Regions from separate parts of the Homo sapiens genome. Here region 1 is linked to region 2. Evidence: promoter capture Hi-C in 16 types of primary human blood cells and fetal thymus (Javierre and others, 2016). All regions are on one chromosome and are shown on one strand. Each heading gives the region's core, a stretch centred on a gene start or on the middle of the fragment in contact. The rest is flanking DNA. Distances are from core to core; before and after follow the strand shown. Region 1 overlaps EIF3J (eukaryotic translation initiation factor 3 subunit J). Region 2 holds the start of GOLM2 (golgi membrane protein 2).

Region 1 (5,012 bases), core at 1,293-3,792, 260 kb before region 2:
TTTTTTTTTTTTTTTTTTTTGAGACGGAGTCTCGTTCTGTCGCCCAGGCTGGAATACAGGGACGATCTCAGCTCACTGCAACCTCTGCCTCCCAGGTTCAAGTGATTCTCCTGCCTCAGCCTCCCGAGTAGCTGGGATTACCAGCACATGCCACCATGCCTGGCTAATTTTGTATTTTTAGTATAGACAGGATTTCACCATGTTGGTCACACTGGTCTCGAACTCCTGATCTCATGATCCGCCCGCCTCGGCTTCCCGAAGTGCTGGAATTACAGGCGTGAGCCACCGTGCCTAGCCCCAGTCTTTTCTTTCATTGCCTCTGGATGGATTTCAAGTCAATTAGAAAGTCTTTTCTTGTTTTTTTGTTGTTTTGTTTTGTTTTGTTTTGTTTTTGAGTTGGAGTTTTGCTCTGGTTGCCCAAGCTGGAGTGCAATGGCATGATCTAGGCTCACTACAACCTCCACCTCCCGGGTTCAAGCAATTCTCCTGCCTCAGCCTCCCAAGCAGCTGGGATTAGACATGCACCACCATGCCTGGCTAACTTTGTATTTTTAGTAGAGATGGGGTTTGTCCATGTTGGTCAGGCTGATCTCGAACTCCCAACCTCAGGTGATCCGCCCACCTCAGCCTCCCGAAGTGCTGGGAGTACAGGCATGAGCCACTTCGCCCAGCCAGAAAGTCTTTTCTTACACCTAAGAATTCACCCACAATTTCTTCTAGAATGTATAGGGTTTCATTTTTTTTTTTATTTAGATCTCTGATTTGGAGTTTTTTTCTTGTGTTATGATATGCAACATGGATCTAATTTCATTTTTTTCCCAAATGGCTACCCAGTTGTCACAGCATCATTTATTAAAAACCCTTTAATAAATAATGGTTTTTTTCCCTGGGCTATGGTTTGAATGTGTCCTCCAAAGTTCATGTGATGAAATCTCCAATCCAACAGTGTTGAGAAGTAGGGTCTTTTAGAAATGATTAGAGGCAAAGCCCTCATGAATGAATTATTAATACCTTTATATTAGGAGTAGATATCTGATAAAAGGATGAGTTCTGACACCTCCTGCAATCCTTTGTGCTCTTTTGCCCTTCTGCCCCAGGATAATAGAGCAAGAAGGCCCTCGCCAGATGCCAGCACCTTGATACTGGACTTCTCAGCCTCCATAACCATAAGAAATAAATCTGTTGTTTATACAATACCCAGTCTATTGCATTCTATTGCAGCAAAAAACATTTTAAGATACCTTGTGACTTACCATATACTAAATTTTCATATGTACTTGGTCTATTTCTGGGCTTTTGATCCTATCCCACTAGTCTACTGTCTCTCCATATAACGGTACCATACTGGGTTTTTTTGGTCTTGTTTTTTGAGACGGAGTTTCACTCTTGTCGCCCAGGTTGGAGTGCAATGGCGCGATCTCAGCTTACTGCAACCTCTGCCTCCTGGGTTCAAGTGACTCTCCAGCCTCAGCCTCTGGAGTAGCTGGGATTACAGGTGTCCACCATCATGCCGGGCTAATTTTTGTATTTTTAGTAGAGACGGGGTTTCTCCATGTTGACCAGGCTGGTCTCGAACTCCTGACATCAGGTGATCCTCAGCCTCCCAAAGTGCTGGGATTGCAGGCGTGAGCCACCATGCCCAGCCGGTACTGTTTTAATTACAGAGGCTTTACTTTAATGTCAGCTAGAGCTAGTCCTTCCTTGTAGGTTTTCAGATTTTTTAGTGTTTTCTTGGCCTTTCTTGCATGTTTTGTTTTTCCATATGAACCCTCATATCAACTTATCTAACTTCATAAGAAAGCTTCTCCATTAGCAGTTAGGACAACCTAGCTGAAATCAATAGCCTCTCTGAAAGTGATTCAGTTATTAATAAATAAAAACTGAGAGAACTTTATAGTTCTTACTTCCCCCCAAATGTAAAAAGCATCCTATACTCTGGCCAATAGCTCATTTATTTCAAGTAGTATTCCATACAACATAAGCCTGGTTAATGAATTAAGTCTATATAATTCTAAAGCCCACTATTAAAAAGGAGTCAGGCCGGGTGCGTGGCTCATGCCTGTAATCCCAGCACTTTGGGAGGCTGAGGTGGGCGGATCACGAGGTCAGGAGTTTGAGACCAGCCTGGCCAACATAGTGAAACCCTGTCTCTACTAAAAATACAAAAAATTAGCTGGGCGTGGTGGCAGACACCTATAATCCCAACTACTTGGGGGCTGAGGCAGGAGAATCACTTGAACCCAGGAGTGGGAGGTTGCAGTGAGCCAAGATTGTGCCACTGCACTCCAGCCCAGGTGACAGTGCGGCGAGACTTCGTCTCAAAAAAAAAAAAAAAAAAAAAAAAGAATCAAGGCCGGCTTACGCCTGTAATCCCAACACTTTGGGAGGCCAAGGCAGGCAGATCACCTGAGGTCGGGAATGCAAGACCAGCCTGACCAACATGGAGAAACCCCGTCTCTACTAAAAATACAAAATTAGCTGGGTGTGGTGGCACATGCCTGTAATCCCAGCTACTCGGGAGGCTGAGGCAGGAAAATTGCTTGAACCCAGGAGACAGAGGCTGTGGTGAGCCGAGATCGCGCCATTGCACTCCAGCCTGGGCAACAAGAATGAAACTCCGTCTCACAAAAAAAAGTCAACAGCTAATCAAGCCTTCATGGATCCCACTCTCTAACTCAGGGCACTTTAATCCCAGCACTTTGGGAGGCCGAGGCAGGCAGATCACTTGAGACCAGGAGTTCCGAGACCAGCCTGGCCAACATGATGAAACCCCGTTTATACTAAAAAATACAAAAATTAGGTGGGCATGGTGGTGCACGCCCGTAATCCTAGCCACTCAGGATGCTGAGGAACAAGAATCATTTGAGCACAGGAGGCGAAGCTGCAGTGAGCCAGGATCGAGCCACTGCACTCCAGCCTAGGCAACAGAGACTCTGTCTCAAAAAAAAAAAAAAAAAAAAAAAAAAAAGATCTATACTCTGTTTTTTCTATGCCTAACTCAATCATTGAGCTAAATATAAACCAATTATCAAACACAATTTTCTAAAAGCTCCACAGAACTTAGAAGGCTCAAGTTTAATAGGGACAGACACAGCCCTATGATTAAAGATGGCTTTAATCATAGGTAGCCTGGCCATTGTCTCAGCAGCCACCAGGCACACTATGACATGCCATTTGAAGCTGAGTGGCAAGATGGCAAAAGCAGGGCAAGAGGCCCTGATGCTACTAAAGAAGCAAAGGCTGACTAGTATGACTAATATGCCACAATATGACACCAAGCTTCTGGTTTCATAACACGACAGATCACAAATTTGTATCAGTCTAGGAATATAAACTAACCAAGCCTTGGTTCTTAATAAAAATCTCTAAGTCCAGTAAAGAAATTAAAAATTCAACATCCTGATTAAGGCTGTCATACAGTCTGCAAGCATAATTAAAGGAACTTTGTATTAAAAAGTAAGTGTATTTTTATATTCATCTTACTTCAGCAATTTAACCCACAGCTCGCAGTTTTAACAGATTGAAAGCAAACCAGCTAGTCATTATTTGAGTAACTGTGATACTAGAGTTAGAAATTAGAGATCAAACGTTTGTATTTCGCCGTTAGTTTGCTAAGTGCTATACATCACAGTACAAAAGGAACCAAAGAGCTAAAAATAAAAGTGAATTACTAGGCATTTTTTGTTGTTTAAATCTTCACAGAACACAGGAAGGCTGGATCTGTGAGTGATAGGGGGCAGTGTTTCAGATAGGAGGACCATTTGCTTACTTCCAGAAGATGCATATTTAAAACCCTTCTGAGAAACAGGTGTAGTAACAAGGTTAATTCTCACAACAGTCCTGTAAGAAGGTAGTGTTATTCCCCCATTTTAAAGAAAAGGAAACCCAGGCCCAGACATAGCCAACCCACAATCTCAGTGAAAAACTAAGGGACCTGCTCTGAATGGACCAAAGTTCTTTAAAGTGTCATAGGTATAAAGTTACAGTTAGAAGAATAAGTTCTGGTGTTCTATTACACAGTACGGTGATTATAGCTAATAACAATGTTATATATTTCAAGATAGTTCCATAAGAAAATTTTGAATGTTAACACCACAAAGAAATGATAAATGTTTAAAGTGATGAAATGGTAATTACAATGTATACATGCATTGAAACATCACAATATACCCCATAAATATGTACATTATTTGCCAATTATAAAAACTAATTTTAAAAAAGTTTTAAATAACTAAACATTTGACTGACCTTTTTATTGAAAATAAAATGATTTACTTTTTTAAAAAGCATGTTTTAAACACTTGCTTACAAAGTTCACGGTTTAGTAGAGTTCAATTCACTGTAATAAAGCAGCTTACAACACATCTTTAGAGTAACATGCTGAGATACATCCTTTAAATGTATACATGTAAACAGCTTCATTTAAGGCTTTAAACACAATGTTAAGGAAGGTCTTTAAAAAGCATGTTTTAAACACTTGCTTACAAAATTCACAGTCTGGTAAACAATTTAATTCGCTGGAATAAAGCAATTCCAATGCAATTCCAATGCAAAATAATAAAAATAAAAATAGTATTATAGTAAATATGACTTCTTCCCTGAGTCCTGAAGTATAAAATAACTAACTGGGAACTAAGTCCCTCTCCTGGGAACTCTGGGAATCTCATAAAGAGAAGGATTATTACACATATTAAGATATGCCCAGCTAGAGGTATACTGGTTACCAAACTTCTCACCTTAAATTGCCTGTAGTGGTTCTCTACTGATCTTTTTTTTTTTTTTGAGATGGAGTCTCACTGTGTCGCCAGGCTGGAGTGCAGTGGCGCAATCTCAGCTCACTGCAACCTCCGCCTCCTAGGTTCAAGCAATTTTCCTGCCTCAGCCTCCTGAGTAGTTGGGACTACAGGTATGCACCACCATGCCTAGCTAATTTTTGTGTTTTTAGTAGAGACCGGGTTTCACCATGTTGGCCAGGATAATCTTGATCTCTTGACCTCGTGATCCACCCACCT
Region 2 (4,533 bases), core at 1,401-3,900:
ACAGATTTTTTTTCCTTTACTGAGAACAGGGGACACCCACATACTGTTGAAGGTAAAAAGTGAAACAAACTGAAAGAGACAGTTCAGTAGAGCTGGGCAAGGTGGTGCACACCTGCAGTCCCAGCTACTCAGAGGCTGAAGCAGGAGGATCACTTGAGCTCAGGATTTCAATGCTATAGTGCATCATGCCTGTGTAACAGCTACTGCACTCCAGCCTGGGCAACACAATGAGACCCTGTCTCTTTAAAAAAAAAAAAAAAAAAAGAGGCTGGGCATGGTGGCTCACACCTGTAATCCCAGCACTTTGGGAGGCTGAGGCGGGCGGATCACCTGAGGTTGGTAGTTCAAGACCAGCCTGACCAACATTGAGAAACCCCTTCTCTACTAAAAATACAAAATTAGCCAGGCGTGGTGGTGCATGCCTGTAATCCCAGCTACTCAGGAGGCTGAAGCAGGAGAATTGCTTGAACCCCGGGGGGGCGGAGGTTGCAGTGAGCTGAGATCACGCCATTGCACTCCTGCCTGGGCAACAAAAACAAAACTCCGTCTCAAAAAACAACAACAACAACAACAACGACAACAACAAAAAGTCCAATGGATGAAAGAATGGAATCAAGAGTATTAATTACAACAAGAGACTTTCCTTTGAGACCAGAGAGAAGAATGTGAATTGTAATGCTCAACCATGCCAAGTAGGAAGACCTTACTTTAATACTCCAAACTTTCATGGATTTCTACCTACTCTGCCCGAGAGTTTTTCAGTCTTTAGAGTTAAGCATGCAGCGCACATATAAATGTACTGATTCCTTGACCCTATCATAGCATGTCTATGTTATGGTGAAGAGGAGGGGGTTATAGGGAAGCACTTAGCTGAGGGCCTTAATCTTCATGAAATAAGAAAGCCAGGTAGAGGCTGTCAACAGGAAAGTTAGAAGCTCACAGACAGTTTAATTCATAATGACTTACCCTTAAGTGATTTTGATATGCAAAGTAAAACTTGTAATTATAATGGGCATTTACACACAAAAATGTGAAGATTACCAAAGAAGTGTATAGAAAGGCATCTACTATCCTGCCCAGAAATTTTCATAACTCTACTATACCTACAGAAGTTGCTAAGTCATAAACTATTAATATAGTTACCAATGAGCTAATGAAAACAAGGATTATTTAGTAGCAAGTATGATTACAGTTCAATTTTAAACTTTTTATATTTAAAACTTTGTATAGTTTTCCATCTGCATAAAACACCAACCCTAATAGCAACTTAGCTATACAAAATTTCATTCTATTTTCTTTCAATGAAGACACTGACATGACATTCCACTGCTTAAAATTTATTTTCAGATTCTAATCTTTTGGCTGATTTCATTAACAATTCAAATTGAGTAGATAATGATGGATCAACTATGTCCAAGACACAAGTGTGTCTCACATATAGCTCGAGGGCCCATCTATCATAACATTTTGATCACAAAAAGGCAGTCATAGCTGATTATTTAGTTATTCAATACATCACCCTATAGAGATTTTAAAAGTCACACAGCTTAAAAAATATATGATGACTACCATAAGTAGAGGAGTCAGAGGCGGCTTCGTTCTTTAAATAACGAAATTAATATTGATCAGTGTGCACGGAATAAAAATGAGACAATAACCACACCAAACCTGGCAGTCGCCAGATTTGTGTGTCTTTGAAGGTAAGGGGGCCACACAGGCCAGATGATTACTACTGCCAACTCACCAGCTGAGCTTAGAGAATAGGCAGCATCTGCACACAGTCCACTCTTGAGAACCAGAATTTACAGTCATTTTTTTCTGGCAGGGACCAGAGAACGTGGCACTGATAAACTGGGAAAAGTCTGACAGAAACAGGGTTGTTGGGGGTGAAAGGAGCCTTCAGGACTGAAATACTGGAAGGCATAAGACAACAGCTAGCGGATTAACATCCCGCCCCAGACCCCGGGGAGAAAAGAAACCATGGGGTTTGAAGAGAAAAGGGTCGTCCTTACCTTGTCATCCTCGCATCTCTTCCCGAGGCCCTCTCTGGCCTGCAGCCGGCTGCTGAGGCGGCCGTAGTCGGCCTCCTTCTGGTCGATCTGTTTCTTGTGCGTGTCCACCAACAGCAAGAGGTCCGAATTGCGCTTTTCCAGCCGCCCGCGGGCCACTTCGGTGCGCTGGACCTGGCCCTGCAGCTCGGCCACCTCCTCCTGAAGCAGGACGTGGCGGGAGGAGATGCTCCAGTAGTTGAAGGCGAGGACGACGATCACCACCAGCAGCACCACCAGCACGAGAGAGGGCAGGCGGCCAGCCCGCCGGTTGGCCCCGAAACCCACCATGGGGCCAAATCGGGCTGTACCCTAGGGGCCTCGCCGCAGACACCTGCAGGCAGAAGCCCAGGCCTCGGCTGGAGTTGCCCGGCGGACACGGCCCCAGGGCCGGCCGAGGGAGGAGGCGGGCTTACCGGTCGGCTGCGAGCCGGAGAAGGGGGCGGGGCCGCAAGCCGCAGGTCCCTCCCCGCCCCCCTCCTCAAATCAGGCCAAAACGCGTTCCGGAGGCTTTGAACCCGACCCTGCACCTGCCCAAGGGAACCGGGAGAACCCAGCTGCCAGCGTCCCCCAAACCCAACACCTCACGGTTGGGAGGCGGGGAAAAAAACCGGAAAGGGGCGGATGTACCCTGGCCCCACCCACTAGCTGGGGCCGGGTCGTCTAGGGGACCATTTCCGAGTTTCCGTCGACACCCCTCTTGTCGCGAGAACGTTGCTTCCTCTCGTCTCTCTCTCTCTCTCTCTCTCTCTCTCTCTCTCTCTCTCTCTCTCTCTCTCTCTCTCGCTCTCTCGCTCTCTCGCTCTCTCGCTCTCTCGCTCTCTCTCGCTCGCTCTCTTTCTCTCTCTCTCTCTCTCTCTCTCTCTCTCTCTCTCTCTCTCTCTCGCTCTCTCTCTCTCTCGCTCGCTCGCTCTCTTTCTCTCTCCCCGCCCAGAGTTTTCTCTGTCGCGTAGGGTGTTGTGTTAATTTTGGCGGTCTCAGATGTCTCAGGTACCTGGGTCGGAGTCCTTTCTGTTGTTATCTACTGGATTCCCTTGATTCAAGGCCTAGGGAGTTCCTGCCCTACACTGGCCCTCGCGAAAATATTTGTCTTTGAGGACGTCTGGGGCTGCGACCGCGGAATAGAAAAAAATAGTAGGTGAGCTGCTGCCAAAAAGGAGCGACTAGAAAGGTTTTGTACTTGCTTCTGTAGAAGGGGAATTTCTCTTTTGTGCTAATGATGTGGAAAGAAAAAACAAAAAGACTGTAAAATAGCGATGCCCTAAACATAATGGAGAAAAGCGGGAGAAACCAAGCTTTAGGACTGAAAGGGGTGGTGCCAGTCTCGTTTCCTAGGTTACTGCTTTCACGAACCGAAAGAATTTCAGAATGTGGCGAGCTCCAATTTTTAAACGCACTGCTGCTTTTGCCTCAGCTGGGCTTCCAAACAGAAAGTCCAGAAGCTGCCCTCGATGAATCGTAACTAATGCACTGTTACTGCCAGCGAACACATTCCGGGTTAGAAATAATAGCTCTAACAAATTGTTTTGCGCGCCTAGTCTCATATTATCTTCTCAACAACGCAATTTTACAGATGAAGAATCCAAGACACATAGATGTTTGGGAACTTTCTCTTATCTGGTTTTAAATAGGCTTGAATCCAGATCATTGAACTCTAAACACCAGTGCTGTCTGCATATAGCAGATTGTTTATATGTTAAGTGTGAATTTCAGTAGTGCAAAAAAAAAAACAAAACCTGCCTCTTTTTTTTTTTTGCATAATTATTTTGTCCGTGCATAGAGAAATAAAAAGGTACTGGCTCTAACCTGTTTAAGGAGAGGATGGGGTTGCCTTATTTTTCAGACCTCAGGTTGAAGAACTTCCATGAGTATAAAACCTCAAGAAGGAAAAACCTTGGTATTTTTTATTCGAATCAGAGTGATATGATTTTGAGGCAGGAAGACTTGTCATCTTAATTATTCTGTGCTTCCTATCCTCAAAAATTATTTCCCTAAGTCCCGTAGTAGCGTAGAATTATTGCATCTTCAAAGAACAATGATTACTCTCTCAGATGCAGTACAGAAAACCACCACCAAAATTATTAATACTTGGTTCACATCAGAAGTGAGCTCTGGCTTCATAAGATCTAACAAATCCTCTCCACTCTCAGATGACAAGCCGACTTTGGCAAAAGGAAGCAAAGCAAAAATGAGAAATCATTAACTATAAAGAGCCTTTCCATCTCTGCTTTCCTCAACTCATATTGGCCTTGCTCTGCTCAACCAGCAATCGAAAATTATTCTAGGCCGGGCGCGGTGGCTCACCCCTGTAGCCTCAGCTACTCGGGAGGCTGAGGCAGGAGAATCACTTGAATCGGTGAGGCAGAGGTTGCAGTGAGCCGAGATCGTGCCATTGCACCCCACCTTGGGCAACAGAGTGAGACTCCGTCTGAAGAGAAAAAAAAATTATTCTATAAAGTTATGTTAACTACTTAAGATTTACTGT

Evidence for each region. The method cuts DNA at HindIII sites, captures the fragments that hold promoters and counts their contacts. A CHiCAGO score of 5 or more calls a contact.
Region 1: a contact is called between a fragment that was not itself captured here and the fragment with the promoter of GOLM2 in region 2, in 3 of 17 cell types (erythroblasts, megakaryocytes and endothelial precursors). The highest score is 10.0, in erythroblasts.

The regions. Positions count from the first base shown.
Region 1 is chr15:44,544,773-44,549,784 of GRCh38, reverse strand. The region is part of intron 2 of EIF3J (eukaryotic translation initiation factor 3 subunit J); the gene reads right to left. Among named protein-coding and RNA genes, the nearest start is that of EIF3J, 10 kb to the right of the region's middle. The HindIII fragment of the contact is 1,478 bases long and covers 1,804-3,281 here.
Region 2 is chr15:44,286,836-44,291,368 of GRCh38, reverse strand. GOLM2 (golgi membrane protein 2) reads right to left here and starts at 2,650. Exons shown (of 10, transcript NM_138423.4): 1 at 2,013-2,650. The coding sequence starts at 2,339. RefSeq lists a silencer at 2,374-2,733 and enhancers at 2,544-2,838, 3,234-3,303, 2,685-3,591. The HindIII fragment of the contact is 5,453 bases long and covers 1-3,345 here.